6 separate regions of the Homo sapiens genome follow, and regions 1, 2, 3, 5 and 6 are each linked to region 4. The links are contacts of gene promoters, found by promoter capture Hi-C in blood cells and fetal thymus (Javierre and others, 2016). All regions are on one chromosome and are shown on one strand. Each heading gives the region's core, a stretch centred on a gene start or on the middle of the fragment in contact. The rest is flanking DNA. Distances are from core to core; before and after follow the strand shown. Region 1 overlaps LIMD1 (LIM domain containing 1). Region 2 overlaps SACM1L (SAC1 like phosphatidylinositide phosphatase). Region 3 overlaps LIMD1 (LIM domain containing 1). Region 4 holds the start of LARS2-AS1 (LARS2 antisense RNA 1). Region 5 overlaps SACM1L (SAC1 like phosphatidylinositide phosphatase). Region 6 overlaps SACM1L (SAC1 like phosphatidylinositide phosphatase).

Region 1 (4,535 bases), core at 1,397-3,896, 140 kb before region 4:
AGACAGGGTCTTACTCTGTCACCCAGGCTGGAGTGCAGTGGTGCAATCTCCTCCTGGGCTAGAGCAATCCTCCCACCTCAGCCTTGAGTAGCTGGGAACACACGTGGATGCCACCATGACTGGCTAATTTTTTGTGTGTATTTTTAGTAGAGACGGGGTTTCACCATGTTGCCCAGGCTGGTCTCAAACTCCGGGGTTCAAGCTATTCACCTGCCTCAGCCTCCCACAGTGCTGGGATTACAGGTGTGAGCCACCTGCAGGCCGTGAATGAGTATTTTATATTTGCCTTCAAGCCATCCTCAGTTTAAAAGAGAAAAATGCATCTGATAAAGCCGGTGTAGTTTAACAAAGGAAACAAGAGTTAAGGACATCACAAAGAGAGGTCAGCCATTTAATCTGACAAAACTAAAACGTGCAATAATACTCACCACTCTTCCTTCCCTATAAAATAGAAATAAGCTATAACCTATTCTGGAAACATAACTGGTCCTTGGCGGTAAGACTCCACCACAAATTTCAGTTCCAAAATATCTCCCTGAGAAGTAAAAATGCAAGGGTTTCCCAACAATGAGAAGAGTTTCCGAGAAAAGAAAGTAAAAATCAGTAGTCACTTGGATTGTTTTGATTGTACTGTCCCAGTTAGTGACTTCTACCTGTACTGTCCATGGTGGCTACTAGCCACATGTGGTTATTTATGTAAGTTTAAATCAATTAAGATAACATCAAAAATTTAGCGCCAGGGCTTGAACAAGTATATCTTGAGTACTTGATGGCCACTTGTGACTAGGGAAGCTTTAGAATATCTGCATCATCGCACAAAATTCTAACCAATCTACTTCTTCAAATAGCTTTTCTAGAATAGGTTCTTTTTTTTTTTTCTTTTTCTTTTTTTTTTTTTTTTTTTGAGACAGTCTTGCTCCGTCACTCAGGCTGGAGTGCAGTGGTGCAATCTTGGCTCACAGCAACCTCCGCCTTCTGGATTCAAGCCATCCTCCTGGCTCAGCCTCCTGAGTAGCTGGGACTACAGGCATGCACCATCACTCCCAGGTAATTTTTGTATTTTTAGTAGAGATGGGGTTTCACCATGTTGGCCAGGTTGGTCTTGAATTCCTGACCTCAGGTGATCTGGCTACCTCAGCCTCCCAAAGTGCTAGGATTAGAGGCATAGGCCACAACACCCAGCCCCAGAATAGGTTAACTCTTAAAAGATATTGCTAAAAACAAATCAATTTGGTTTGGCTCAAGTGAAGGAGAGATCCAGCCTCGATTTTGCAGGCTTGCCAAGCCTCAGTAAGCCAAGGAGCACAGCAGAAAGGGGCAAAGTGGAAAAGCACTCAGGCTTGGGGTCCAACCTTGCCTTTGCCCCTTCCCTGAAATGAGACCCTGGCTGTCACCCAAACCCTTCAGGTTCCCTGGTAAGGATAAAAGTGGGATCACAGTAGGGAACGCAGCCCAGTGCACCTCATACCAGGCATCTGGTGTGACTGTTGCCAGCATCCCTACCTGACCTTCCGTTTCCTCAAATGACACCCACCAGAGCTAAGAATCATAACCACCACCCTCTCTCCCTCCTCATCCAAATCCCCTACATCACTCCTTCCTTCTCAGTTTATCTGTGGCAAAGGGCTAGGTATGGGAGGCTTTTGTTTTTAATTTCCATCTGTCAGACTTATTATCTTGTAAAATACAATAATATAGAAAAATGAAACATAAAATCCAAGCCCCAACTGTAGTTATTATCCAATTCAACTGACACAAAGCCACTCTGTCAAACTCTTAGGAAGGTCTCTAAACGTTCTCATCTCTTTCTCGGCCTTTGCTGGTGCTGGCCAAGGACCATGTTCTGAGCACTGCTGCCTCACGCTCCAATTCTCTTCTCACGTGCCACTCCAAAGTCTTTGTCTTATAGTTAGTTTTCCATTTCCCCTATTCCAGGCTATTATCGTCTGGATCAGAGATGAGAATACTGCACACAGAGACAACCCAGAGATGTGCAGAGGGTCTCCGTTAAGTGTTCAGCAGAGCATGGATCAGCTCTTGCCTGTGAGGAAACTAACCAAAGTCAGAGGACAAACATCTGCAGGATTCGCAAGAACAGTGCCTGGCACCCACAAAAGCTGGAAACAGTGCCTATTCCCACCAGCCCTGAGAATGAGGAATAATAGAGCCCTAGACTGAGCTCTGCTTTGAATTCATCTAATAAATCATAAAAGCAAGACTAGAAAGAATCACTGTTCCTAAATAATTTAACAGCATCCCAGAACAATGCTCAGAAGATTGAAAGAATACAAAATATCCAAGACTCAAAAAGGTAAAGTTTACAATGTCTGGCAGCCAATCAAATATTCCCAGGCATGCAAAGAGGCAGGAAAGCACAACCCACAGGGAAGAGAATAATCAATCTATGGAAATCAACCCCGATCAGACACAGATATTAGAATTAGCAGAGAAGGACATTAAAAGCTATTGTTTCTATATTCAATATGTTGGAAATGTTAAGTAGCAACATGGAAAATATTTAAAAGGCTCAAACTGAGCTGCTAGAGATGAAAACCAAAATGTCTGAGATAAACAATACATTGGCTGGCCGGGCATGGTGGCTCTCACCTGTAATGCCAGCACTTAGGGAGGCCAAGGAAGGCGTATCACTTGAGGACAGGAGTTTGAGATCAGCCTGGCCAACATAGTAAAACTCCACCTCTACTAAAAATACAAAAATTAGCCAGGCATGGTGGCTCATGCCTGTAATCCCAGCTACTTAGGAGGCTGACCCGTGAGAATCGCTGGAACCTGGGAGGCGGAGGTTGCAGTGAGCCGAGATCACACCATTGCACTCCAGCCTGGGCAGCAGAGCAAGACTCTGTCTCAAAATAAATAACAGGCCGGGTGCGGTGGCTCACGCCTATAATCCTAGCACTTTGGGAGGCCGAGGCAGGTGGATCACCTGAGGTCAGGAGTTTGAGACCAGCCTGGCCAACGTGGCAAAACCCTGTCTCTACTAAAAATACAAAAATTAGCCAGGCATGTGGTGCATGCCTGTAATCCCAGCTACTTGGAAGGCTGAGGAAGGAGAATCGCTTGAACCCGGGAGGTGGAGGTTGCACTGAGCTGAGATCATGCCACTACACTCCAGCCTGCACAATGGGGGCAAGACTCCATCTTAAAAAAAAAAATAACCATCTGATCTTTGACAAACTTGACAAAAACAAGCAATGGAGAAAGGATTCCCTACTTAATGGTGCTGGGAAAACTGGCTAGCCATATGTAGAAAGCTGAAACTGGATCCCTTCCTTCCACCTTACACAAAAATTAACTCAAGATGGATTAAGGACTTAAATGTAAGACCAAAAACCATAAAAACCCTAGAATAAAATCTAGGCAGTACCATTCAGGACACACGCACAGGCAAGGACTTCATAACTAAAACACCAAAAGCAATGGCAACAAAAGCCAAAATAGACAAATGGGATCTAATTAAACTAAAGAGCTTCTGCACAGCAAAAGAAACTACCATCAGAGTGAACAGGCAACCTACAGAATGGGAGAAAATTTCTACAATCTACCCATCTGATAAAGGGCTAATATCCAGAATCTACAAAGGACTTAAACAAATTTACAAGAAAACAACAACCCCATCAAAAAGTGTGCAAAGGATATGAACAGACACTTCTCAAAAGAAGACATTTATGCAGCCAACAGACATATGAAAAAATGCTCATCATCACTGGTCATCAGAGAAATGCAAATCAAAACCACAATGAGATACCATCTCATGTCAGTTAGAATGGCGATTATTAAAAAGTCAGGAAACAACAGACGCTGGAGAGGATGTGGGAAACAGGAACGCTTTTACACTGTTGGTGGGAGTGTAAATTAGTTCAACCATTGTGGAAGACAGCGTGGCAATTCCTCAAGGATGTACAACTAGAAATACCATTTGACCCAGCCATCCCATTACTGGGCATATACCCAAAGGATTATAAATCATGCTGCTATAAAGACACACGCACACGTTATGTTTATTGCGGCACTATTCAAAATAGCAAAGACTTGGAACCAACCCAAATATCCATCAATAATAGGCTGGATAAAGAAAATGTGGAACATATACACCACGGAATACTATGCAGCCATAAAAAGGATGAGTTCATGTCCTTTTTGGGGACATGGATGAAGCTGGAAACCATCATTCTCAGCAAACTATCACAAGGACAGAAAACCAAATACCGCATGTTCTCACTCATAAGTGGGAGTTGAACAATCAGAACACGTGGACACAGGGAGGGGACATCACACACTGGGGCCTGTTGGGGGGGGTGGGGGGCTGGGGGAGGGATAGCATTAGGAGAAATACCTAATGTAAATGATGAGTTTATGGGTACAGTAAGCCAACATGGCACATGTATACCTATGTAACAAAACTGCACATTGTGCACATGTACCCCAGAACTTAAAGTATAATTTAAAAAAAGATACATAAATAAATAACAAAAAGCTTTTTAAAAATTTTAGAAAAGAGAATACACTGGATGGGA
Region 2 (4,555 bases), core at 1,759-4,258, 180 kb before region 4:
TTTGTGGGTGGGAATGTAAAACGGTGCAGCCACTATGGGAAAACAGTATGGTGGCCCATTAAAAATTAAAAATAGAATTCCCATATGACCCAACAATTCCACTTCCGGGTATATACTCAAAATAACTGAAAGTAGGGTTTCAAAAAGGTATTTGTATACTCACATTCATACTGGCATTACTCACAATAGCCAAAAAGGTGGAAGCCACCTATGTGTCTATTAACAAATGAACAAACGAAATGTGGTACATACATATAATGGAATATTATTCAGCCTTAGAAAGGAAATTCTGGGCCAGGCACAGTGGCTCAGGCCTGGAATCCCAACACTCAGGGAGGACGAGGCAGGCGGATCACGAGGTCAGGAGATGGAGACCATCCTGGCAAATGCAGTGAAACCTTGTCTCTACTAAAAATACAAAACAGTAGCTGGGCGTGGTGGCAGGCACCTGAAATCCCAGCTACTTAGGAGGCTAAGGCAGGAGAATTGCTTGAACCCAGGAGGCAGAGGTTGCAGTGGGCCGAGATCGCACCACTGTACTCCAGCATAGGCAACAGAGCGAGACTCCATCTCAAAAAAAAAAAAAAAAAAGGAAATTCTGACACATGCTACACAATGGATGAACCTTAAGGACATTATGCTAAGTGAAATAAACCAGTCATAAAAGGACAAATACTGCCACTTCATGAGGCATCTAGAGAAGTCAAATTTATAGAGACAGAAAGTAGAACGGTGGTTGCCAGGGGCTGGGAGGATACAGAAATGGGGAGTTGTTTAATGGGTACAGAGTTTATTTTTGCAAGATGAAAACGGTTCTGGTGATGGATGGTGATAACGGTTGTACAACATGAATGTGCTTATTGCCCCTGAACTGTATACTTAAAAATGGTTGAGATGGTAAATTTAATGTTTTATTTTACCACAATTTTTAAAAATAATGAAACCACTATTTTGCATAGGAGCCACAGTGATATGTCATAAAACTGTAGCAAGAACATATTCCCTCAAAAATCTTACGTAAAGAATTTGGCTGGGTGCAGTGGCTCATGCCTGTAATCCCAACACTTTGGGAGGCCGAGGCAGGTGGATCACTTGAGGTCAGGAGATCAAGACCAGCCTGGCCAACATGGTGAAACTCTGTCTCTACTAACAATACAAAAATTAGCCGGGCCTGGTGGTGCATGCCTGTAGTCCCAGCTACAAGGGAGGCTGAGGCACAAGAATCACTTGAACCTGGGAGGTGGTGGTTGTGGTGAGCCGAGACTGCGCCACTGCACTCCAGCCTGGGCAACAGAGTGAGACCCCATCTCAAAAAAAAAAAAGAATTAAATCAAGGTCTTAATGATCAAATTTAATACATCTCTGGTTGAAAAGACAGAGGCACAACACTTTACTAGGTTTGGTGAGCAAAAAGAAAACAACTTAGTAAAGAAGGATCCCCTGCACATACTACACTCATAGGCAGAAGGTGCTCCTACCTCCCCCATTCATCCTCCCTTTGGGTATCTCCTCACTGAGCCCTCCCTGGTTGCCTCTCCTATAGCTCAAGTTCATCACAGACTCCCCAGGGGCACAACCCAATTCCAAACCAGTTGGTGTTTCTAGAAAGACTCATTCTAATGCTATCCTCTTTCTCAAAACTCTGTGTTCCCACCTATATCCTATTCCCTGAATGCCCTAAAACCCATTCTCTCAACCAGACTTCTTCACAGGACTAGGTCCAAATTCCACCTAATCTGAAGCTCTAATCCACAGCACAATCTACCAGAGCCCCATATCTTCCAAAGAATTCTCTTCTACCAGCATGTTCTGGTCCTAACTCAGCTATGTATGCCCAGCCCTAAAATATTTCAGAGTGCATAAAAACTACCAGGATAGCTAGTTAAACTTGCAGATTTCCACCGCTCATCCCCAGAGATTTTCACTCAGTAGGCCTAATGTGGGGCCCTGGAATACGCACTTAAAACAAGCATACCAAGTCATTTGATGTAGCCTAGCACTAACCTAGGCTAGCCACGTGAGCCTAGGTAAGCCTGAACTAGCCTGAACTCCCAGCCAACTAATGCTTTGGATACAAACCCCATATTGTCTGTGCTAAAACTCATGAGAATAATCTGAGCTGCCCTACACCCTTCCCTCCACCGGGAGACTTCTGTGAATAATATGAATGTTCATTATATTGAACAGATTATATGTGTCTGTATCACAAGGTAGCTTAGGTTACATCTGTTTTCAAGGTTGGATCATATCTGCCCTGACTGATGACCTCACAGTTATGAGACTCTTTTAAAAATGGCAATTTCCTGAGGAAACAGTACTCTTCAGAGGCATGCTGCAGCCTGATGCAGTAACTAAAGGATTCCCTGCCTTACACCTAGTTTCAACTGACCTTTTAAAAGAAAAAGAAAAAAAAAGAAGAAAAAATGCTTTAAATGTATCCAATAATTTTGCACCTCTAACTTTCCACTGAACCTTTTAGAAAGTTATTATGAGCTTGAGGTCTGAGGGGCCTAAGAAGTGCCCAAACCACATTTGATGTCATTTCCCTGCAAAGGAAATGTGACACCTACGCCGAACTGCCAAGGTATTTTAGCTTATATACAGGGATAGATAAGCTTCTTAAAAATTACATTTCCAGTCTAATTATTTTGCAATTTCAAATTTATCACTGTCTGACATTATCCATGCCTATACAAATGGCTTAAAAAGAAAAATGGAGCCTAACAGGATATTTAGAACTGCCTGGAAGTTTAAAAAGTATGAATTTTAAATTCTGAGCAAATCAATATTCTGTTTTCCACATTAAACATATGGAAATTAATATGGACATGTCAACTATATTTGGTTGTAAGTGACTCATTTCAATACCTGGCATGTCTGAGGACTAATGCGAGAGCAATCTGGTAAGAGAAAAAAAGGTCATATGGATAATGCAATGAAATGGAAAGATCACTGGACTCTGGACCAGCCGTATTCCAAGGCTAGCTCTACCATGGCTTGGCTGTATGATCTGACTTTGTGGCCAAGGGCAATTATGAGACTGTTTTCAACAATGACAGGATACCTATCAACCTATGACCTCACAGAGACACTGGGAAGACAATATACATGAAATGACTTTTAAGCTGTGTTTCTTCAAAACGATACATTCCAAATTACCCTAGACTGTGTTCTTTTTGCAGTGCTAGTACGTGGTCTATACTGGAAAGTTCCTTTCATTTACTCAGTTGATTCACTGAGGAGCTGCTCTGCACAAGGCTCTATGTTAGGTACTGAGGAGGACTAGAGAAGAAAATGTTAAGGTGTAAACTGGTTGGAGAAACAAAGTACAGCCATGTGCCATGTAACAATGCTTTGGTCAACGACAGACTACACATATGATGGTGGTCCTATAAGCTTATAATACCGTATATTTACTGTACCTTTTCTTGTTTATGTATGTATACATACACAAATCTTTACCATTGTGTTGCAACTGCCTACAGTATTCAGTACAGTAACCTGCTGTACAGGTTTGTAGCCTAGGAACAACTGGCTATTCCATATAGCCTAGGTGTGTAGTAGGCTGTACCATCTAGGTTTGTGTAATTATACTCTGATGTTTGTACAAAGAAGTTGCCTAACATATTTCTAACATATTTCTCAGAATGTATCTCTGTCAGTAAGAGTCACATAACGGTGTACATAATGATTTCATTTCTAAGTGACAAAATGAGTGGTTCAAACAGTACTATGGATTGACCATTCTAGCTTTCCATCCTCTTGTCCATGAGAAAGTAAATGCACTGTAAACTGATCCTAAGAGACAGAATACATAAATCATGTAAACATTTGGTGTCTAACCCTGTTACAATAATTTTTCATTTTTGGCTTTAAAAACTGTTACCAGAACTCAGTGAAGGAAAAGACATGGAAAGAAAACATTTCTCAAAGAAGGTACCTATGAGGTACACTAAGTACTTCATCTAAACTCTCTTTGGGCCAGGCATGGTGGCTCATGCCAGTAATTCCAGCACTTTGGGAGGCCAGGGTGCATGGATCACTTAAGACGAGGAGTTCAAGTTTCAGCAACATGGCGAAACTGAAAAACAGAAAAAATCAGCCAGACATGGTGATGTGCACCTGTAGTCCCAGATGCTTTGGGGGCTGAGGTGAGAGGATCACTTGAGCCTGGGAGGCTGAGGCTGCAGTGAGCTGAGCTCACACCACTGCACTCCAGCCTGGGTGACAAGTGAGACCCTGTCTCACAAAAATAATAAAAAAAAAAAAAAACTCTCTTTCAAACCTTACAATAATCCTGTGAAGTATCAACATTCCCATTTTACAGACTGAAACACCAATTCAGAAGGATTAAGTACTATGCCCAGGACACAAAACAAGTAGTCAAGTTAAGATATGAATCCATATCCATTCTGACTAACAAAACCTGAGATCTCTTGGCTCTACCATGGATGTGACCAGTATGTAAAGAGAACAGAGAGGAAGAAGGCATTCTGGGTAGAAGGATCAAAATAACACCCAAGTTTGAAGCTAGAAGGGGATGAGCCAAGTTTTG
Region 3 (4,768 bases), core at 271-2,770, 160 kb before region 4:
TTAGATGAATACACAGAAGAGACCACACAGGAATCCTTCTCCTGCAGCCTCTCACAGGGTCTCTGAGCTGGCAGGGAAAGAGGGCTCCTTTCCAACCCTCACCCAGAACAGGAAACTCTTGCATAGTTCTTTAAGAGAAAGAGATGGTAAGGAAGGGATGGGCCAATCCCAGGGCCAAAATCCACCACGAAGAAGTGGGAAACGATGCAAAGCAGGGCCACAGAAGGATACATCCTTCCCAGATTTGGGAAGCAGCAAGTACTCGGAAAAATGAAAAGAAATTCCATGTGGAAATGGCAGAGCTCAAAAGGAACCCCTTCACTTCTGCCTCTTGGATGCCCCTTCTATGCAGCTTTGACTCTGGAGCATGATAATCTAGAAGTTCTGACTCAACCCAATGACCTCAAATCCAAGTGTAATAAGTAAAGTTTCTCTGTTGTTGTTTTTAAACGCAATAGAGGGAAAGCCCCACAAACTTCTTCCTCTCAGTGTCATTTAATCTGGATCTGGATGGGATACCTGGAACTGCCAGAGCCAACCTGAAACCAGGACAGACCCAAGACATGGACAGCAGGAAAGAGAAGAGATGGAAAGAACATCCTTGGTGAGGTCCGTAAGTAACTGAATTAACTCATCATGGAACCACATACCTCCAAGCCTCTTTTTAGGTGAGATAAAATATCATTCCTATGAAGTCAGTGGTCCTCGAAATGTGTGTGGCCCCAGACCTTCAGCATTAGCATCACCTGCAAACTTGTTAATAATGCACATTCTTGGACCCCATCCCAGATTTCTTGAATCAGAAACTCTGGGGGTAAGGCCCAGCAGTTGGTATTTTAATAGGGTGATTCTGATATATATTAAAGTTGGAGGATCATTGGTTTAACTCGAACTGAGTCTGGGTTTTTTCTATAATTTGCAGTTGAAAGCATCTTCACTGACTTAATAGGAGATTCATTTCTGCAATTACCTGCATCATGAAACTTAGCAAAAACAACTGAACTACAGAATCAACATGAGCAAGGTCACACCAAAACATGCATCTGCAAAGAATGTACAGAACGGTCATCAGCATCCAGCAGTGGGAGCCCACACAGAAAGCCTTCAAACAGGCTGAAGAAAGGGGATTTTGGATTTGGGGAAGCCTTGTCAGTACACTGTGAGACCCAGGGGTAAAGATATGCTGTGTTACAGCTCCTTCCCCTGGAAGCCTCAGGCGGATAACTCCACACTGCACAAGCTCCAGCCAAGAAGGCAAGAGGAGGGCGTTGTGCTATTCCAGCTTTCCTCTGAATGCTCAGCTTTCAAGCTTCCTCATTCCCTCTTGGGTTTCCCTAACCTTTGAGGGCCCTCTCAATCTGCAGTAAGGCAAAACAGGAAGAACAACTGGCTGGGCTTCCAAAACCCATTTGGCAATTTGGACCTTGGAATGCATTTTCCCCAAGATGAATGCTGTCTTGGCAGAAAGAGATCCTTAAATTAATTTAATCCACATTGTGCCTAAAGTAAGATTAGAAAAAGATGCCATTTTGCTGCATTGTGACTAGCTGTAATACTTTTTTTATGTGAGACTATGCCTGGTTCTAACCTGCAAGCCCAGAATGTACCCCTCTATTAACAAAAGGGTATATAGAGAGACAATTTACACAAAGAGTTAGACAGCTGGGGTTCTGTCTAGACATTCACTAAAAGTTTTCAAGTCCTAGGGAAGACCTGAAAGACTGAAGCTTCAACTTCATACTATCCCATATGGTAGAGATCTCACATCAAGAGATGGGGACTATTTCCCCCTCCCCTTGAATCAGAACTGGCTTTGTGACTTTCTTTAATTAACAGAAAGCAGAAGAAACAATGTTCTGAGATTTCTGAGTCAAAGGCTTAAGAAGACTGGTAGCTTCCACTTCCTATCTCTTGCTGTAAGGAAGTCTGAACTAGACTACTGAATGATTAGAGGCTACAGGGAGAGGGGCCTGGAGGGTGAGAGGTCATCTTGGATGTTCCAGTTCAACTGTGCTACCAGCTGAACAAAGTTAAGTAGGAGACCCCAGCCAATGCCACACAGAGCAGAAGAATTGGCCTGCTAAACCCTGACCTAAATCCTGACCCACAGCATGAAGCATGATGATAAATAAGAAATCACTATTGTTTTAAACTACAAAGTTTTAGGGTGGTTTGTCATGCAGCAATAGATAAATGACATACCCTGAGGTTATCCAAAGAAGTCTTAGGATTACTAGAACTAAGAATAGGGTATAATCATACTCATAAATTCAGAGCATGTTGACTTCATATGAAGTAGGTTTGTCAGAAGGACACTAAAAACAAAGGCAAATTCTGCTAAAGAAATAGAGCCCTACAGAGTCTAGAAGATACCTGGGAAGGAGAGGTAAGCATATGTAGCTTCTGCCTACCTCCCACTGCGAGCATGGGGGAAGGGCCACGTTTCCCAGGGAGGTCTTGGCTACTAATGAGGACATGGCTCTAATAGGGCTAAGACCTCTGCTGAGGTCTGTCAAAGCCTGGGAGATAGCAGATATTCATCACGAATGGGGAGGGCTGTGGGTCACTGATGTTTTATAAATATTAGCATATAACCAGCAGAAATGAGTGTTTATGTCCATCAAAGACATGTTCAAGAGTATTCACAGCAGCTTCATGCATAAATAGCAAAAAACTAGAAACCACCAAATCCCCATCAACATGAGATGGAGAAATAAATTGTGCTATATCCATACAATGGAATTCCACTTAGCAATACAAATCAATAAACTACCAATACAGGTAACAGCATGGATGAAGCTCAAAAACATATGTAATAAGACCTGAAAGAGTCTATACTATATGTTTCTATTTATATGAAGTTCCAAAACCAGCAAAATGAATTTCTGGCAATAGAAGTTGGAATAATGGTTGCCTTTGTGGGAGTGGGGTCTTGAGTGGGAATAGACAAGAAGGAACTTTCTGGAGTTTGGGAAGTGTTCTATATCTTGATCTGGGTGGTGGTTACAGGGGTATATGCACATGTGAAAACTCGTTCAGATGTACACTTAAGATTAGTATCTTTTACTCTATGAGTTATTTCTCAATAAAAAGGTAAAATTAAAAATACTAATAATTAGAAATTATCTTCTCTAGAATGAAATTAATGAGTCAGCTTAGAGAGGGACTTAACTGTTTCCAACTTAAAGTATGTTATATAATCATTTCCTCTGATCAGTATATTAAAGAACTTCTTAAAGGCTGGTTTCCAATGGTGAACAATTTGATGTTGTATTCATTAACCTCATAACCTAACCCTCTAGGGAAAAATTGTCCCCACTGAAGACCTGAAGCCCAAAATAACCTCAGAGAGCCAGTGACTGAGCAAAGAATGGAATGTATAAAACCTGGTCCTTGCTCTGCTGTCTCAGAACTAAATGACAGGCCCTAAAAACTCATCTTCGTAATGGTGTGAGCTGGGCATAACACAGGGAGAAAAACAACTTTGCTCCTCTGGCTTTCTGCATTTGACTCCAAGGTAGCTGAGATTTCTGCAGTAAAAACAGACTGTATTTAGCATCTCACCTGGGATGCCACAAGGATCACAGAGAAGCCAGAGGGAGGCCAGTGCGATTCAAACAGCCCAGAGGAGGAGAAAGCATTATCGGAAACATGATAGCGTGTGCTCTAGATGGTTAAAGATGTTAATTCCAATAAAAGCCAACAATGTGGGTTCTATTAGAACAAGCAAGCTGTACTTTACAGGGACTTTTTTTTTTTTTTTGAGGTGGAGTCTCACTCTGTTGCCCAGGCTGGAGTGCAGTGGCGTGATCTTGGCTCACTGCAAACTCCGCCTCCAGGGTTCAAACAATTCTCCTGCCTTGGCCTCTCAAGTAGCTGGGACTACAGGCATGCACCACCACGCCCGGAAAATTTTTGTATTTTTAGTAGAGACAAGGTTTCACCATATTGGCCAGGCTGGTTGGTCTCAAACTCCTGACCTCGTGATCCGCCCGCCTCGGCCTCCCAAAGTGCTGGGATTACAGGCATGAGCCACTGCGCCCAGCTGTAACCACAAATCAAGATAAGAAACACTGTCCTCAATTATTAATTTCTTTTTTCTCTGAACACCTCCTCCTCCACCTGAGATGCTGTTCTCTTCTTTGGCTGACCTACTCACCATGTCCATGATCAGATGTCCACAAAGAAAACACCTGTCAGCCGACTGCTGGAAACCAGAGTACTGCAGAAGAAAAAGAAAAGAAAGTTAAACCCAGACTGGTAAGATGAATCAGCCACTTCCCCAACAGCCAAGAGGATTATAAGGAATTTCTCAGAAAGATGTGTCACTCTGTGCAGAATTCTGTCATCCCCAAGTACAACACAGCTGTGGGCTGAGTCATAGAATATTCTCTGCCACGAAAGCCATCACAAATACTAGTACCACTCACTCTAACAATGACTGTGTCTGGGCACCCACAGCATGCCAGGCTCTATGTAAGGGACTGTATATAGAGATGCTTTAATCCCATCTCAGTGGTTCTCAAAGAGCAGTTCCCTGGCATCACTTGAAAGCTTGTAAAAAATGCAAATCCTTGGGCTCCACTCCAGACCTACTGATTTGGAAACTCAGGGGGTGGGTTCTGGCAATCTGTGTTTTCACAAGCCTTTCAGGGGATTCTGAAACCATCACTCTAATGCTTACAACAATTCTGCAAGGTCTACATTATTACCCAGAATCCTCAAATAGAAGCAGAGGGCAGCTCAGAGAGGTTAAGTGAACTTTTCA
Region 4 (4,987 bases), core at 1,647-4,146:
ACTTTTTCTCATAAGAGGATAAGAACAGGTTGACCTTCATACTGAAATTATTGCAAATTTGCAGTTGTTTATTCTTAAGAATCTGCCTGATTCAATTTTGAGGCATTTCAGCAAGACCTATTCCAAACTCAAAGAATGATTCATGGCGATATCTGCTGATAACACACGTTAAGTATTTCGTGTTCAGGGTATCAGGTAGGAGCACTCATTTCCTGGAGATCCAGTGATGTTCCCCACAAACATCACCAGTACATGGCTTTGGTTGCTCAAGGTAAATTTTTAAAGGTGTTTTTAGGGCAAAAGTTAGGAGAGAATGATCTGGATTCAAAGATAAAGATAGGTAGGATGATCAAAATCAGCAGCATTGGCCAGGCGCGGTGGCTCACGCTTGTAATCCTAGCGCTTTGGGAGGCCGAGGCAGGTGGATTGCCTGAGCTCAAAGTTTGAGACTGGCCTGGGCAACATGGTGAAACCCCGTCTCTACTAAAATACAAAAAGTTGGCCAGGTGTGGGGGCGCGCACCTGTAGTCCCCGCTGCTTGGGAGGCTGAGGCAGGGGTTGCTTGAGCCCAGGAAGCGGAGGTTGCAGTGGGCCGAGATCACGCCACTGCACCCCAGCCTGGGAGACAGAGCGAGACTCTGTCTCCAAAAAAAAAAAAAAAAAAAAAAATCAGCAGCATTAAGCCTCAAGAAGGGGCTGGGAATCCAAGGAATCCTATTCTTAGGTCTTGTATTTTATCAAGTGGCACAACACTGCCACCTTCCGAGAACGGACAGAATTGCAACCTGCGAAAAACTGACTAACCCCAGCTGTTCAGCCTAAGGCTGCAACTTTTGCCTCGTCTTTTATAACTTTTTTTTTTTTAAGGTAAACTGTTGAGGTATAGCACACATATTGAAAAGTGTAAGTCCTAGCGGTATAATGATGAATCTTCACAATATAAAACACACTTGTGTAACTGGCATTCAGCCCAATTAGCAGAACGTGAAATCAACCTTCCATCCGCTTCTAGGCACTGTCTCCTCACTATGGGCCCCTATAGCCTGACTGCTAACACTATTATTTCATCTGCCTGTTTCTAACCCGCTTGTAGCCATTTCTTAGTGAGAGCTCTCAGGGGATGTCCACATGGGAGGCTTTCCCCAGAACTGGCAGGCAGGTCCTCAGCAGTGCACCCACACCAAGACCTGCTAGTTACATGAATATATCCTAATGTCTGAAAGCTTCCAACAATGAAACTTGACAGTTGAAGCTCTTCTGGACTGTCTTCTCTGAGGGTTGCAGTGCAGCAGGGGCCATCTCAGATGGATCATCTAGAGCAGGGATGGCAAAACCTAGCCAACTATCCCCAGTGCCCTTGCCTACAACCACCCAGACACCATTCATCGACAGCAGCACTCCTGGTGCTCAGAACGAGTCTCTGAATTCTTCTTCGTACCATATAATCAGAAAGCACAGAGTTATTATGTGAAATGTATCACTTATTTCTTTGGTATTTCTTGAGTGCTTGCTATGTGCCTGGCACTGAGCTAGGCACTGGGGATATAATGTTGGGCAAAGCAATCTCTGCCCTTGGGGAGCCAGCCTGTTTACGATCACTGAACCAAACCAATGCCTGACAACTCTCAGAGCTGTGAGGGAGGAAAAGAAAGAGTGCAGTCATATTTGAAGAGCTCCTCCTCCCAATCAAGTCCAAATTCCTCCGCATAGCCATCCAGGACTTCTCCCTGTCCCCTGCCACTCCCTCTGCTCTTTCAAATGTTGCCTGCATGTGCTTCCACGTCTTTACTCACGCCATTTCCCAAACTGTTATCAAAACTCTAGTCCTCCTTCCTGGCTCAACTCAAATGCCATCTCCACTGAGAAGGTATCTCCTGGTCAGAATTAGAATTAGTTGTTTTTTCCTTCCTGATGCATCCTGTGTAGTGCCTGTAATTGTATCTAGCAGCTATTACATTTTATTGTGTATTTAGGTAAGCTGCTTGCCTGTCTTTCTCCTGTGAGGAGTAGGAGGATGATTTTTTTTTGAGACAGGGTCTTGTTCTGTCACCCAGGCTGGGGTGCAGTGGCACAATCACAGCTCACTGCAGCCTCAGTCTCCTGGGCTCAAGTGATATTCCCACCTTACCCCTGCAAGCAGCTGGGACCACAGGCGCGCACTACCACACCCAGCTAATTTTTTGTATTTTTGGTAGAGATGAAGTCTCACTATGTTGCCCAGGCTGGTCTTGAACTCCTGAGCTCAAGCAATCCTCCTGCCTCGGCCTCCCAAAATGCTGGGATTACAGGCATGAGCCACTGCTCCTGGCCTTGAAAATCCTTAAAGGCCACTCTCAGTCTCCAGTTCCTAACAGATGCTCAGTAATGTTAATTGCCTTGAACTCAATCAAGCTTGTTTCAGTGGATGAATAAACCTACCAGCAGCAGGGGTGGGGGATAATGTGAGTAGGACAAAGTGGAGGCAAGAGAGGAGGGAAGAAAGAAATGAGTGAAGTGGGGCACTGGATGCTATACTTTCCAGCTAGTGCCACCATCTTTTTGCAGGGAGGGGTGCATTGAAAGATCCCAAGCAGCTGAAGCAAGAGAATGAGAGCAGGGGAATGCCCCGATGAGTGCTCACATGGAATTTCCCAGTGGGGAAAGGGGCGCTTCCCAGCTCCTAGAATCCTGCTCATTCCCAAGTGTTTTCCCTCCACTTTTCCAGGGAGCCAGGGAATGGGCTATAGGGAGTTGGGAATCTGGTTTTCACTCTTGGCTGAAGCTGGCCATGTCTACTCTCATGCGTAGTTTAGCTCTGAATGAGTCACACTTGTTTATTCATTCAACATGTATTTACATGATAATTGGGTACACAGCACTAGGCAATTAATTGGAGAGCTTACAATAAGAACAGGCAGCCCAGGACATGCTCATAAATAACCATCAGCACTACAAGAAAGACGTACCAAATGTGATTTGGAGGCGCAAGGTGCACAGGAATGAAGGACAAAGGACATCAAGGGCCCTGCTGGACTTGGAACCCAGGCCTGCTGGAGCAGAGATCACATCACATTGCCAAGTTCATTATTCAGATTCACAATTGGGGTAATGTGTTTCCCTTTTGTTCACTCATTCATTCACTCAACAGATGGTACTTGGGAACAGACTTGCGTATGCAACTGAGTTATTCATTCATCATAGTGACTGTGCACAGCAGGGGCCTTTATAAGTGAGTGGAAAATCTGCAACTCTAAACCACTAACAAACCGTTCTGACTCAGGGACCATCAAACGCGGGAGTATTAGGCAGGGCCTCTGCCTTGAAGAAGGCCCTGGATTTCTGAGTCAGCTTTCTTCCTACTCCTTCGGTACATCCCTGGAGGTAGATCATGCTTGCTTGCACTGAAGCACAGCTATATGTAAGCACAGTGATGAAAACTGGGGGGAGATCTTCACAATTTCTTCATTAGTTTAGACTGCACTAACTCAGAAATTGCAACAACTGATAGCTGCTGGGCATTGAAGGCCACATTTGTCCCACTTGGAAGAAGGAAAGAAGGAAGGGAGGGAGGCAGGGAAAGAGGGGAGGAAAGGTAGGGAGGGAGGAGAGGGAGGAAGGGAGGGAAGGAAGGGAGTTGCTAATTATTAGGATAAACAAGGAAATTCAGAACATTGATTGATTGGCCATGTTAAGTGCTCTTAAAAAAATCACTATATACAAGGAATGTGCTAATTACAGTATGAGCAAAGAATATCAGGATGTATCAGAGCCCCACCTTCTTGCTGCAGATGACATTTACCTATTCATGAAGCCCCAGAGAGCCTGCTGCCCACTCCCCTGACCTGGTGCGAGAGTGGCCTGCCAGGCTGCAGATCTTTGAAGGCCATAGATCTCTGAAAATGGTCTCCAAATTGGACTTTTCATTAAATCAGACTAAGTTTACCTTCCTCTTCTTCCTTGTTCTGTGCCCAGGGCCATCATGTCACATAATTAGCCTAGTTTCTAAGTATTAGCCATGGCTCATTCTTGAAATATCACCATTCCCATTTCCTAGCAGCCAGTTAGTGGCGCAGAAGGAGGGTTTACTAATACAGCAGGACCCAAGTAAAGCTTCTCTTCCCTTCCTGTTCCTTTTCCCAGTAGCCCCGTTTCTGGCATGATCAGAGTAACAGAGAAGAAAGCTCTGTGGATAGGGGCTTGCTGTGCTCTCCACGGTCAGCAGGCGGCCTGCCCTTCTCATGGGAGCTCCCTGAGCAGCTGCTTGCTTCTGACAGCCACCACTTTCTGTTGATTCCAAACTGAAGGGAGAAATTCAGTTTGGGGAATTTAGTGTCTAAGTTGCATTACAGAGCTACAACAAAAAGTGACAAGATTCCATGTTTACAGCGGTCTCCCACAAAGGGAGAGAAAAGGCTTCCTGATCTCATTCAGTGAAGATGGGCCATGACATGTTCCCACGCTCTAATGTGCCCCCTCTCTTTCAACCTGGTGCTAACCACCGGAAGGAGGGAAGCTGAAAGCTGATCCTACCCCACACCCACAACCACAGCAGGAGGCTCAGCATATTTTCCTTCTTTGGAATATATACCATACTGTAAATGATAAAGTTACACAATCATTGTAAAAAATCTGGAAAAAATCAGAAGTATATTGGGCTCACCACCCAGAGATAGCTAGTGTTAACATGTTGGCATGAGTTTTTCAAGTCTTTTCTCTTGCTTTGAGTATGTGTATATATGTGCTTGTATATATAAAGACAAAGATAACCAAGCTGTATCTTGCTTTTTCTATTTCTCATTACTTCAGATGAATTTCTCCATGTTATTAAACATTCTTTGTAATTTAATTGAAAGTGTTGTATAAGTGTGCTCCACGTAGATGGATTATACTTTATTTACCCTGTCTCAGCATTTTGGGGCATTTAGATTGTATCCAAATTTTTAGCTACTTGAAATAACACTTACATGAACATCTTGGTGCATAAGTTTGCATTTCTGATTATTTCCTT
Region 5 (4,301 bases), core at 377-2,876, 220 kb before region 4:
AGAATATGGATGCAGGAAGCAAACTATCTGTTTGCTAGCCTTAGCATCATACGCAACTTACTAACTCTAGAACTTTAAATAGTAAGCTTTTTCATCCACAAAATGGAGGTAACAGCAGCACCACCATTAGGCTTCTCTAAGGTTTGAATGAGATAACACATAATGCACATAAAGTACTTAGCACAGTGTATGGAACACAGCAAACAACGAATACTGGATAATGTTAACTATTGAAACTATTCTCCAAAATCCAAAAGGAGGAAGAAAATGCAACAGATTCATCAAGGGCTAAATACAAATCATGACCTCAGGAACAAAAGCGTGGAAGAATGTGTTAGGATGAAAAATCTACATATGGATCATGCAGAATTGGTAAGGTTCGTTTAGAGTTGGTGTACATATATATGTGTGTGCAAGGGTGTGTGTGTCCGTACCCCATGAATACTTATAAAATCCTAGATATGTTATAAACATTATCGCTTAAACTATACAGTAAGTTATCATCTTCACTTTACAAATGAAGAAACCGAAGTCTGAAGATAACTAAGTGGCCCTGGGTCATATTACTACTAAGAGAAAAACTTAAATTCAAACCAAGGTGTGTTGGATCCCAAAGCCCAGATTCTTCCCACTACCCCCAAAACCCTTAGAAAAAAGTCTCGAGAGATCATCTGAAAGTCACCAGTGAAAGCTCTGCTCTCCCTGTGGACCACAGTGAACAGCAACGAACACAAACTCTGGAGTCAACTCTCCTTCTTTCTTACACTCTTGTACGGCAGCAGTTAATGGGTGAACCCAAGGAACTACCTCCTCCAACAACATGCCAGGGCCAGCCAATGTTTTCTCTAATTGCCCAACAACAGGAGGTCAATTTCCCTTCTGTGTTCATGGCAAAACGTCACAGAAAAAAAGCAGATTTAAATAACTGTAGTTGATTACCTAATGTATATAAAAAGATATTTTTGAAAACTGAGCAAATGTCTATCCAAGAGGTTTTACTATATTATTGTGTAACAAATTAAAAAGTGCATTTGGATTGCCAGGTTTAGAACCATCACACACAGGCAGAAGAAAATGGTAGTACGATTTACAGATTCCTTCTTCTGGCTTTAAAATCGGTAAAGACTGGCACGCATAGAGTATGGTAAACCTGAACCAATATGATAATATAGTACTGCAAAGACATTCAGACCCTTTGATCCATTAATCCTACTCTGAAGAATTTTTTTAAAGAAATAAATTTAACAGATGTAAAATATATATAATGATTCATGGCACCACAATCTTTCATGATAGAAAGAGGAAAGGAAATAAACCAGGTGCTCAGGGTGAAGAAAAGCACTTTCTTAGAACTATGTTATGATAAAACAGAATATAGAAAAGCCATTAAACACTATCATTACAGACGCTGTACAGGTTAACAACAAAATACTTGTGATAGAATGTCTAGTGGAAACGACAATACAAAATAGTAGTAAACCAAGTTCAATTATACAAAAATTTGTAAATGTATGGTAGATAATTTATAAAAATATGAAGATATCTGGCCTTGGGTCATTTTTAAGAATTCAAAAATATTTTGAAGTCACCAAGTCTCATCTTTCCAGTAAAGAAATTAAAAATAATAAAATAGTACAGACAAGCAATGACAATCCAGTGAACTGTACTTGTAAGTCTGCTGGATGACGCATAATAAAATATGACTGATATATATACCTCTTCCCTCTACCTCCTTAAGGAAATAATATAGCTTACCTTAATTCATCTTGCATTTCTGCTACCTGATCCAATAAAATACTTAGTCGATCCCATCTCATATTTTTACATTCCTTATGGAAGTCAAAGGCAATGTATCTACCAAAAGAAAAGATATTCAGAAACCGACCAGAGATCATTCATTTTCCTTCTATTAATAATACCTTCATAAGCTGATTTTCCTCTTTATATCAGTGCATACATATTTCTTGGGAACACTAGAACCTCCTTCACTCTGGGTTTATCACTATACATATACTACATGCACACACACACCCCTTCTCATGCTCATACCTAGCAGAGGAAAAAATATATATATGATATGTGCAGATATAAACATGAAAATATATGCATATATATCTATCCTCACAGGTTCTTCTGGGGCCCTCAGGAGGAGTAGAGGAGAAACACAACAAATGGTAGTGAAGTAAGCTCAAGTACAGCAATCAGGTATGCACTGCAAAGAGGCCTAGTCCAAATTCCTTAAGGCAATTCTAGTGGCAAAGTATTATCTATGGAAACTCTCTGGAGCACAAAGCCTCAATGAGGGAATTTTAATCAGAGACTAAACTCAAAACTTGACTGAAAAGAAGTTATTCTGCAACATAAATTATGCTAGAGAAATTTCAAGCCAACAAAATATCATGCTTTGATCTACTATTGAAAAAAATGCAAGCTGAAACATATGTCTAGTGAGCTCTATGTAATCATGCATATATGTAAGTGCACATCTGATCTGAAAAGACCTGCAACAGATTTCTAGTGAGGTACCTCATCATTCCACTTCCCAAGGAAGACACCATTGTTGCAAATGTCTGCTCAAGTGGCTTCTCCGAGCCCTTCTGGTTAATCTGTAAAAAATTTCAAACACCATAGTTTCCAGTTTATTTCAAAGGAGAGAATGGTATCAGAAAAAGGACAAACTAGGAAGCTCTAAGCTCTCATCATTCTCCCACAGAAACATCAAAAAAACCCAGAAGCTGTCTGAGCCAACTTTGTAGGAGCTCTGAAAAACGATTAAAGGTTTTATAGTAACCCACCCAAGCACCCAATAAAGTAAAAGTCACTTTCAAAATGGTGGGAAAGTTTTGTGGCATTTAACTTGTCCTTGACCCAGCCCCTCCTCAGAGTGGTGACAACCTTAGTCTTACAAGGGAATAACCGGGTTCTCAGTTCCCCTCATCAAACTAGAGGAGGCAGACCAGACCTTATTTGCATATAATTGTGTACATCTGTTGTAACATGAAGGACTAACTCATCTCTGTCCCACGTATCTCTGAACACGGGCAGTAAAAATGGTGACCACTGTTTGTAAAAGCTACAAGAGGAACATAAACCAATGGATGCCTGAGGCAAAAAATTCTGGATGGAGACATACAATAGACCATCTAAAGGCTGGAGAAGAAGCTTGGTGATATTCTTAGGAAATTAGGACTTTCAAAAGCAGCCATGTATATGAAGGAGTTTTGAAGGCCACCCACATAACCAGGCAAGATGCATGCTGAAAAGAGTCCTGAGAAGACCTTAAACCTTTACCACAGACTGATCCCTAGGCTCACAGCAAGCCTGGCTACTCAGCAAAGGACTGCCCCAGCATACAGCAAGTCTGCAAAGAATGGGGGACAGGGTTGTTCTCTCATTTTTGCTTTCTTTTTTTGTTAGTTTGTCTATTTCAGTTCTTGGAATTCAATGAAACCTGTCAAAACAGCTGAATAGAAGCAAAAGGAACAGACCTCAGTGAACATACACAATAAGAAAGTTTTGGCAAAAATAGTTTGGAAAAGTCTCAAAAAAAAAAAAAATGGATTAGCAGAGTCTTTAACAATCAAATAAAACAAAAAAAACCCCAGCAAACCGTAGGGGAAAAGGAGACTCTGACTTCCAGAGTTATGATATTATAATAATCAAACATATAATTAAAAAAAAAATCACAGGTACAAAAATAAACAGAAAAACATGACTCATTCAATGGAACATAAGAAATTGACAGAAACTGTTCCTGTGGAAGCCAAGACAGGACTTGGCTTATTAGACAAAGACTAGACTTATTAGACAAAGACTTTAAAGCAACTGTCTTAAAAACACTCAAAGAGCTAAGGGGAAACACAGACAAACAACTAAAAGAAATCAGGAAAACAATACATAAACAAAATGAGGATATCAACAAAGATAGAAAAATTATTATAAGAAGCCAAAAAATAATTCTGGAGCAAAAGAGTACAAAAAGTGAAATAAAATATTTAGCACTATGGGAATTCCAGGAAGAGAGAGAGAAAGGCAGAGACAGATTATTTGAAGAAAAAAAAAATAGCCAAAACCTTCCCAAATGTGATGAAACATATGAATCTACAAACCCAAGCTCTGAACTCTAAGGAGACCCACACCAAAAACATTATAATCACATAGCTGAAAGACAAAAACGGAATCCTGAAAAGCAGCAAGAGAGAGGAGACTCATCACACACAAGAGATTCTCAATGGGATTATCCGCCAATTTCTCATTAGAAATCTTGGAGGCTGAAGACAGTGGGATCATATATTTTAAAT
Region 6 (4,707 bases), core at 34-2,533, 200 kb before region 4:
AGTGCTGGGATTACAGGCATGAGCCACTGCACCCGGCTGAATAAACACATTTATTCTTATTTTATCCTTAGGAGAACTTGGAAAGCTCGGGGTGGGGAAACAAAAATAAATGAGCTTTTATCATGAAATTTTCTAATTTTTATTTCCCCATAACTGTGGAACATGTTTCCTCCATTACTTTTTGGGTTTTCTTTAAGTATAACAAGCATTAAGTTTAGTGAAATTATATTAACATACTGAATAAATAAATAATAGACTTGTATTGATAAGCTTCTTACATGTGCTTGATAGATGTCATCACCGTTTTCTTCAGGGCACAATCCTGATTACAGTCATGCATCACTTAATAGGGGTACATTCTGAGAAATGCATCGTTAGGCAATTCTATACATTATAGAGTGTACTTACACAAACCTAGATGGCACAGCCTACTACACACCTAGGCTACACGGTATAGCCCATCGCTCCTTAGCTACAAACCTGTATAGCATGTTACTGTACTAAATACTGTAGGCAACTGTAACACAATGGTATTTGTGTATCTCAACATATCTAAACATAGAAAAGATACAGTAGAAATATGGTATTATAATCTTATAGGACCACCTTCATATATGTGGTCTGTCACCGACTGAAATGTCAGTATGTGGCACATAACTGGATAGGCACTCATGAGCATATTGTGCTTATATATCCTTTAAGAGCCAGCTCACTTGGCTGCTTTATTTTTATTATGATGTCTATGACATAGATCTGTTTTTAACATGAACCTACAATTAGATAATCATTACTCATTTTGTATCTGTACTCTGATTTCTCCCTTAGGCAATATTCTTTGTACTCTACTTATTTTCATTTATCTGTCACTATTTCAAATGACAAAATTTTTAATGGTAATTCTCCTCTCCAACTTGTTACCCACACTAGTGTCTGAGTCTCACTTTTTTTGACCCTGTCACCCAGGCTGGAGTGCAGTGGTGCCATCACAGCTCACTGCAGCCTCAAACTCCTGGGCTCAAGTCATCCTCCCACCTCAGCCTCCTGAGTAACTGGGACTAGAGGTGCAAGCCACCATGCCCGGCCTAAGTCTAACTTTTTAAATTATGTACTTAGGAAAGTTTTCAACAGCCAGGTCCAAACTACTTATGTGTAATTTACTGATAAAAGGTAACATCAAATAAAGGCAAAATACAGTACACATATTCCTTTTCTTTAAACAACCAACCCCAGAACTCTTGAACAGAGAGAGAATCGTATAGTCTGAAAAGTTCATTCTAAAAAAAAAAAAAACAAACAAAATAGCAATGAGTTTGATTTTCTTATCAACAGCAATTTATATTAATTCTGAAATACTCTCCTTATGGAGTATTTGAGACTATCTCTAAATCTGCCTTATAATAAAATTTAAATAAAGGCATCTAGAAACTAAAGAGTAATATCATGTAAGGATACAGCCATGTAACACTGGAAGGGCAAACCGATGAACCTGAAATGAAGATATATATTTAGAATAAATATACTTTAAAAATAAATAAGCATTATATAAAAATATTTACACATAGGGAGGTAATATACAAACATAACAAGGTAGTAAACTTATGGGTAATATAATTTTTAAAAGATTTCTCTAATGTAACATTAAGTATGCATTACAATCATTTGAGCTTGAATATTCACAGATTTTGGAACACTAATAAAGCTACATGAAGTTACAGAATGTTTACCTCCTTTTCAGTCTTTGCCTACAACAACTTCACTCCTCCAGGGAAAAGATATCCCATGCTAATTGTTTGCAGCTCAAACTACTTTTCCAAAAAAAGCATAGCAAATGACAAGAAATAAAGCAATTAGACACATCTATTTACCTAGATTCAATAATATATCATGTTTCCCTAGCTGGGCCTCCCTGTTTATACCTCATATGTGTAGACAAAGGACAGAAGAGGGCGGTGCCTGTGCATGTCTCTCCTGGGTGACTGAAGGGAGTCTCATCCCCAAAGGAAGACAAAAAAGAGCTCTCCCCTTGGCCAGGAAACTTGGCCCTGGCCCCTCATTTCTCCATTATCCATGTACCAAGATCCCCTGTATCTCTCTTAGTTAGACAAAGCAATGTATTTTTATTTAAGGCTTCTATAGAAGATCAGAGTAAAATAGTTAGGCTTCTTCAACCTAGAATGATGTGACAGGGTAGACCTGATCCAAGTTTGTAAGTTATAAACAGTTAAATTAGAATTGTTTCTCGAAATTCTTGGTGATTAGGAAGTCACTTTATAGCATGCATTGAATTAAAGCTTGGACTGTAACAATTAAGCAGATTTTATTTCGTGTACATTACCTCTGGCTGTGCAGAAAGTTCTCTTAGAAGATGACCATTCCATACAAACCGCTGATCTGCCTGAGAGAAGTTTTAAAATTTAATAAAATATCTCCTGCCAAGCTTACTTTCTACAGAAAGAAAACTACACCAATCAATGTCTCTTTCTGATGGCTAGAAGCCAGTTTCTTTGACAGGCCTCAAACAAAATACATCTCCCCCGCAAATCTGTACCTCCTGTGGGCATTTCTGTCTCATTGTCTCAGGCCAGACAGAAACCTGGGAGGAGTTTTACGGTATTTCTTTCCCTTACATTTAATTGTCAAGTACTAAATCTCCTTCAAAATCCATATTTTTTACATTTCTACTCCCACTATCTTTACCAACATCTGACTCCAGCCTAACTAACACACCTTCCCTTGCCTCCAGTTTAGGCATTAGCCCTCGCCACTCATTTTTCCACAATGCTACCAGCAGGAGTTCTCTAACATGTCCTGTCTCCTATCTGCTCAAAATTCTTCAATGACTCTGTCATCTAAAGAACCAAATCTCTGCATGGCCTAATCAGTCCTAGGATCTGGCAGCCCCTAATTAACTCTCTGATCTCATCTCTGGCCACTCCAACTTTCATAAATACAGAAGAGGCTCCCTCAACAATCTATATTTAATCAACTCTACTTAGGGCCAGACGTGGTGGCTCATGCCTATAATCCCAGCACTTTGAGAGGCCAAGGCAGGCGGATCACTTGAGACTTAGGAGTTCGAGACCAGCCTGGCCGACATGTCTCTACTAAAGATGCAAAAATTAGTCAGACGTGGTAGCACGTGTCTGTAGTCCCAGTTACTTGGGGAGGCTAAGGCACAAGAATCACTGGAACCTGGGAGGTGGAGGCTGCAATGAGCCAAGATCGTGCCACTGCACTCCAGGATAGGTGACAGAGCAAGACTCTGTCTCAAAAAAGAAAAAACAAACAAAATAACTGACTCTACTCAGTAGATTAATCAATTCTATTTATGAAGCATACCAACTGAACCACCAGCACCGCCGACTCTAAAAGTCACAGGGAATGGCTTTTGCACTTGACCACAACCAGCTGAATCGCACTTCCTGAGATTCAAGTGTGTGTTCCTGAATTTGTACCAGTCATACTTATTATTATTTCATCATTATATAGTTTAACTATTTTATAAACCAATGAAATAAGATGAAAAACACACTGCTGTTTCTATAAAGTTAAATGATTTGGAATGTAACTTGATAAGAGGCAAGTTGCTAAAACAAAACTGCTGTTGAATTTGGAGTGGGAGTGGCAACTAAAAAAATATAAAAGAACATAGTAAAAATGTACAGGATTCTGCACACAGATTTCTCTGTAAGTGTCAAAGTCTTTAAAGTGGCCCAAATGGGAAAGCCCTATGGATGTAATTTACACAGGGAAGACAATTCAGAATCAAGGAACCAAAAACAAAGAAAATCCTATGGCCGTACATAAAAACATTGACCAATGTAAAACTTTTAGGTTTTAAGTTAAAATATTTAGGGTATATATGTTCCATTTATCACTTTTATGATTCCCTATGTTAACATTAACTTTTTTTTTTTAGACCGTCTTGCTGTTGCCTTGGCTGGAGTGCAGTGGCGTGATGACAGCACACTGTGGCTTCTATCTCAAGTGAACCTCCCACCTCAGCCTCCCGAGTAGCTGGGATTGCAGGTGCGTGCCGCCACACCTGATTAATTTTTAAATTTTTTTGTAGAGCTGTGGTCTCCCTATGTTGCCCAGGCTGGTCCTGAACTCATGGACTCAAGCAATCCTTCTGCCTCGGCCACCTAAAGTGTTGGGATTACAGGCATGAACCACTACACTTGGCTAACTTTCTGTTTAGCTGACAAAACATTCCCATCTCATCCCAACAGATGAGATGGCTTTTTCTGCAGCTTAGCCTCTGCCACCACCTCTGCCTGGAACCCCCCGGCCCACTGTCACCTGACCAACAAATCTTCATCAAGTCTCAGCTCAAAAGTTACCTTTCTGTGTAAAGTTACTGTCCTCTGTAGATACCTTACTTTATAAAGTTGTCCCTGACAACCTCAGGCAAAGACCCTCATTCCTTCAGGATCCCACCTCACTTTGGTACATATCACCATTATAGCAACCATTCTTTGACTACCACTTCCCCAGCAGACTGTAGGCTCCCACAAGACAGGGTCCACAGCTTCATTCTGGGTCCCCAGGGGCTAGTATAGTTCCTGGTACATGGCTGACGTTGTAGAGATGTTTCATAAACAAATGGAGAATGTAGCAACTGCTTTTAAAAGCAAGTCTCTTTGTAGTTAAAAGCCAAGTTTCTTGAATGCTTAGCCTGCACCTAAACTTCCATCTAAGCCTACA

Evidence for each region. Contacts are between HindIII fragments. The CHiCAGO score rates a contact against its expected background, and 5 or more counts as called.
Region 1: a contact is called between a fragment that was not itself captured here and the fragment with the promoter of LARS2-AS1 in region 4, in 11 of 17 cell types (total B cells, megakaryocytes, naive B cells and 8 more). The highest score is 11.0, in total B cells.
Region 2: a contact is called between a fragment that was not itself captured here and the fragment with the promoter of LARS2-AS1 in region 4, in 7 of 17 cell types (endothelial precursors, monocytes, M0 macrophages and 4 more). The highest score is 9.8, in endothelial precursors.
Region 3: a fragment that was not itself captured here is called in contact with the fragment with the promoter of LARS2-AS1 in region 4 in 9 of 17 cell types (M0 macrophages, M2 macrophages, monocytes and 6 more); the score reaches 15.8 in M0 macrophages.
Region 5: a contact is called between a fragment that was not itself captured here and the fragment with the promoter of LARS2-AS1 in region 4, in 5 of 17 cell types (M1 macrophages, naive B cells, megakaryocytes and 2 more). The highest score is 6.6, in M1 macrophages.
Region 6: a contact is called between a fragment that was not itself captured here and the fragment with the promoter of LARS2-AS1 in region 4, in 4 of 17 cell types (naive B cells, megakaryocytes, M2 macrophages and 1 more). The highest score is 5.7, in naive B cells.

What each region holds. Positions count from the first base shown.
Region 1 is chr3:45,650,277-45,654,811 of GRCh38, reverse strand. The region is part of intron 2 of LIMD1 (LIM domain containing 1); the gene reads right to left. Among named protein-coding and RNA genes, the nearest start is that of LIMD1-AS1, 36 kb to the left of the region's middle. The HindIII fragment of the contact is 3,703 bases long and covers 795-4,497 here.
Region 2 is chr3:45,692,034-45,696,588 of GRCh38, reverse strand. All of the region lies in intron 1 of SACM1L (SAC1 like phosphatidylinositide phosphatase), which reads right to left. Among named protein-coding and RNA genes, the nearest start is that of SACM1L, 4.9 kb to the right of the region's middle. RefSeq lists an enhancer at 2,305-2,444. The HindIII fragment of the contact is 781 bases long and covers 2,618-3,398 here.
Region 3 is chr3:45,667,748-45,672,515 of GRCh38, reverse strand. LIMD1 (LIM domain containing 1) reads right to left here. Exons shown (of 8, transcript NM_014240.3): 4 at 4,160-4,222. Among named protein-coding and RNA genes, the nearest start is that of LIMD1-AS1, 19 kb to the left of the region's middle. The HindIII fragment of the contact is 418 bases long and covers 1,312-1,729 here.
Region 4 is chr3:45,507,454-45,512,440 of GRCh38, reverse strand. LARS2-AS1 (LARS2 antisense RNA 1) reads left to right here and starts at 2,896. Exons shown (of 4, transcript NR_048543.1): 1 at 2,896-3,084. The region is part of intron 15 of LARS2 (leucyl-tRNA synthetase 2, mitochondrial); the gene reads right to left. RefSeq lists a silencer at 2,530-2,824 and an enhancer at 3,651-4,517. The HindIII fragment of the contact is 1,698 bases long and covers 2,394-4,091 here.
Region 5 is chr3:45,729,606-45,733,906 of GRCh38, reverse strand. SACM1L (SAC1 like phosphatidylinositide phosphatase) reads right to left here. Exons shown (of 20, transcript NM_014016.5): 12 at 2,527-2,606; 13 at 1,756-1,854. Among named protein-coding and RNA genes, the nearest start is that of SACM1L, 42 kb to the right of the region's middle. The HindIII fragment of the contact is 3,076 bases long and covers 89-3,164 here.
Region 6 is chr3:45,710,825-45,715,531 of GRCh38, reverse strand. SACM1L (SAC1 like phosphatidylinositide phosphatase) reads right to left here. Exons shown (of 20, transcript NM_014016.5): 6 at 2,336-2,395; 7 at 1,453-1,486. Among named protein-coding and RNA genes, the nearest start is that of SACM1L, 24 kb to the right of the region's middle. The HindIII fragment of the contact is 2,021 bases long and covers 273-2,293 here.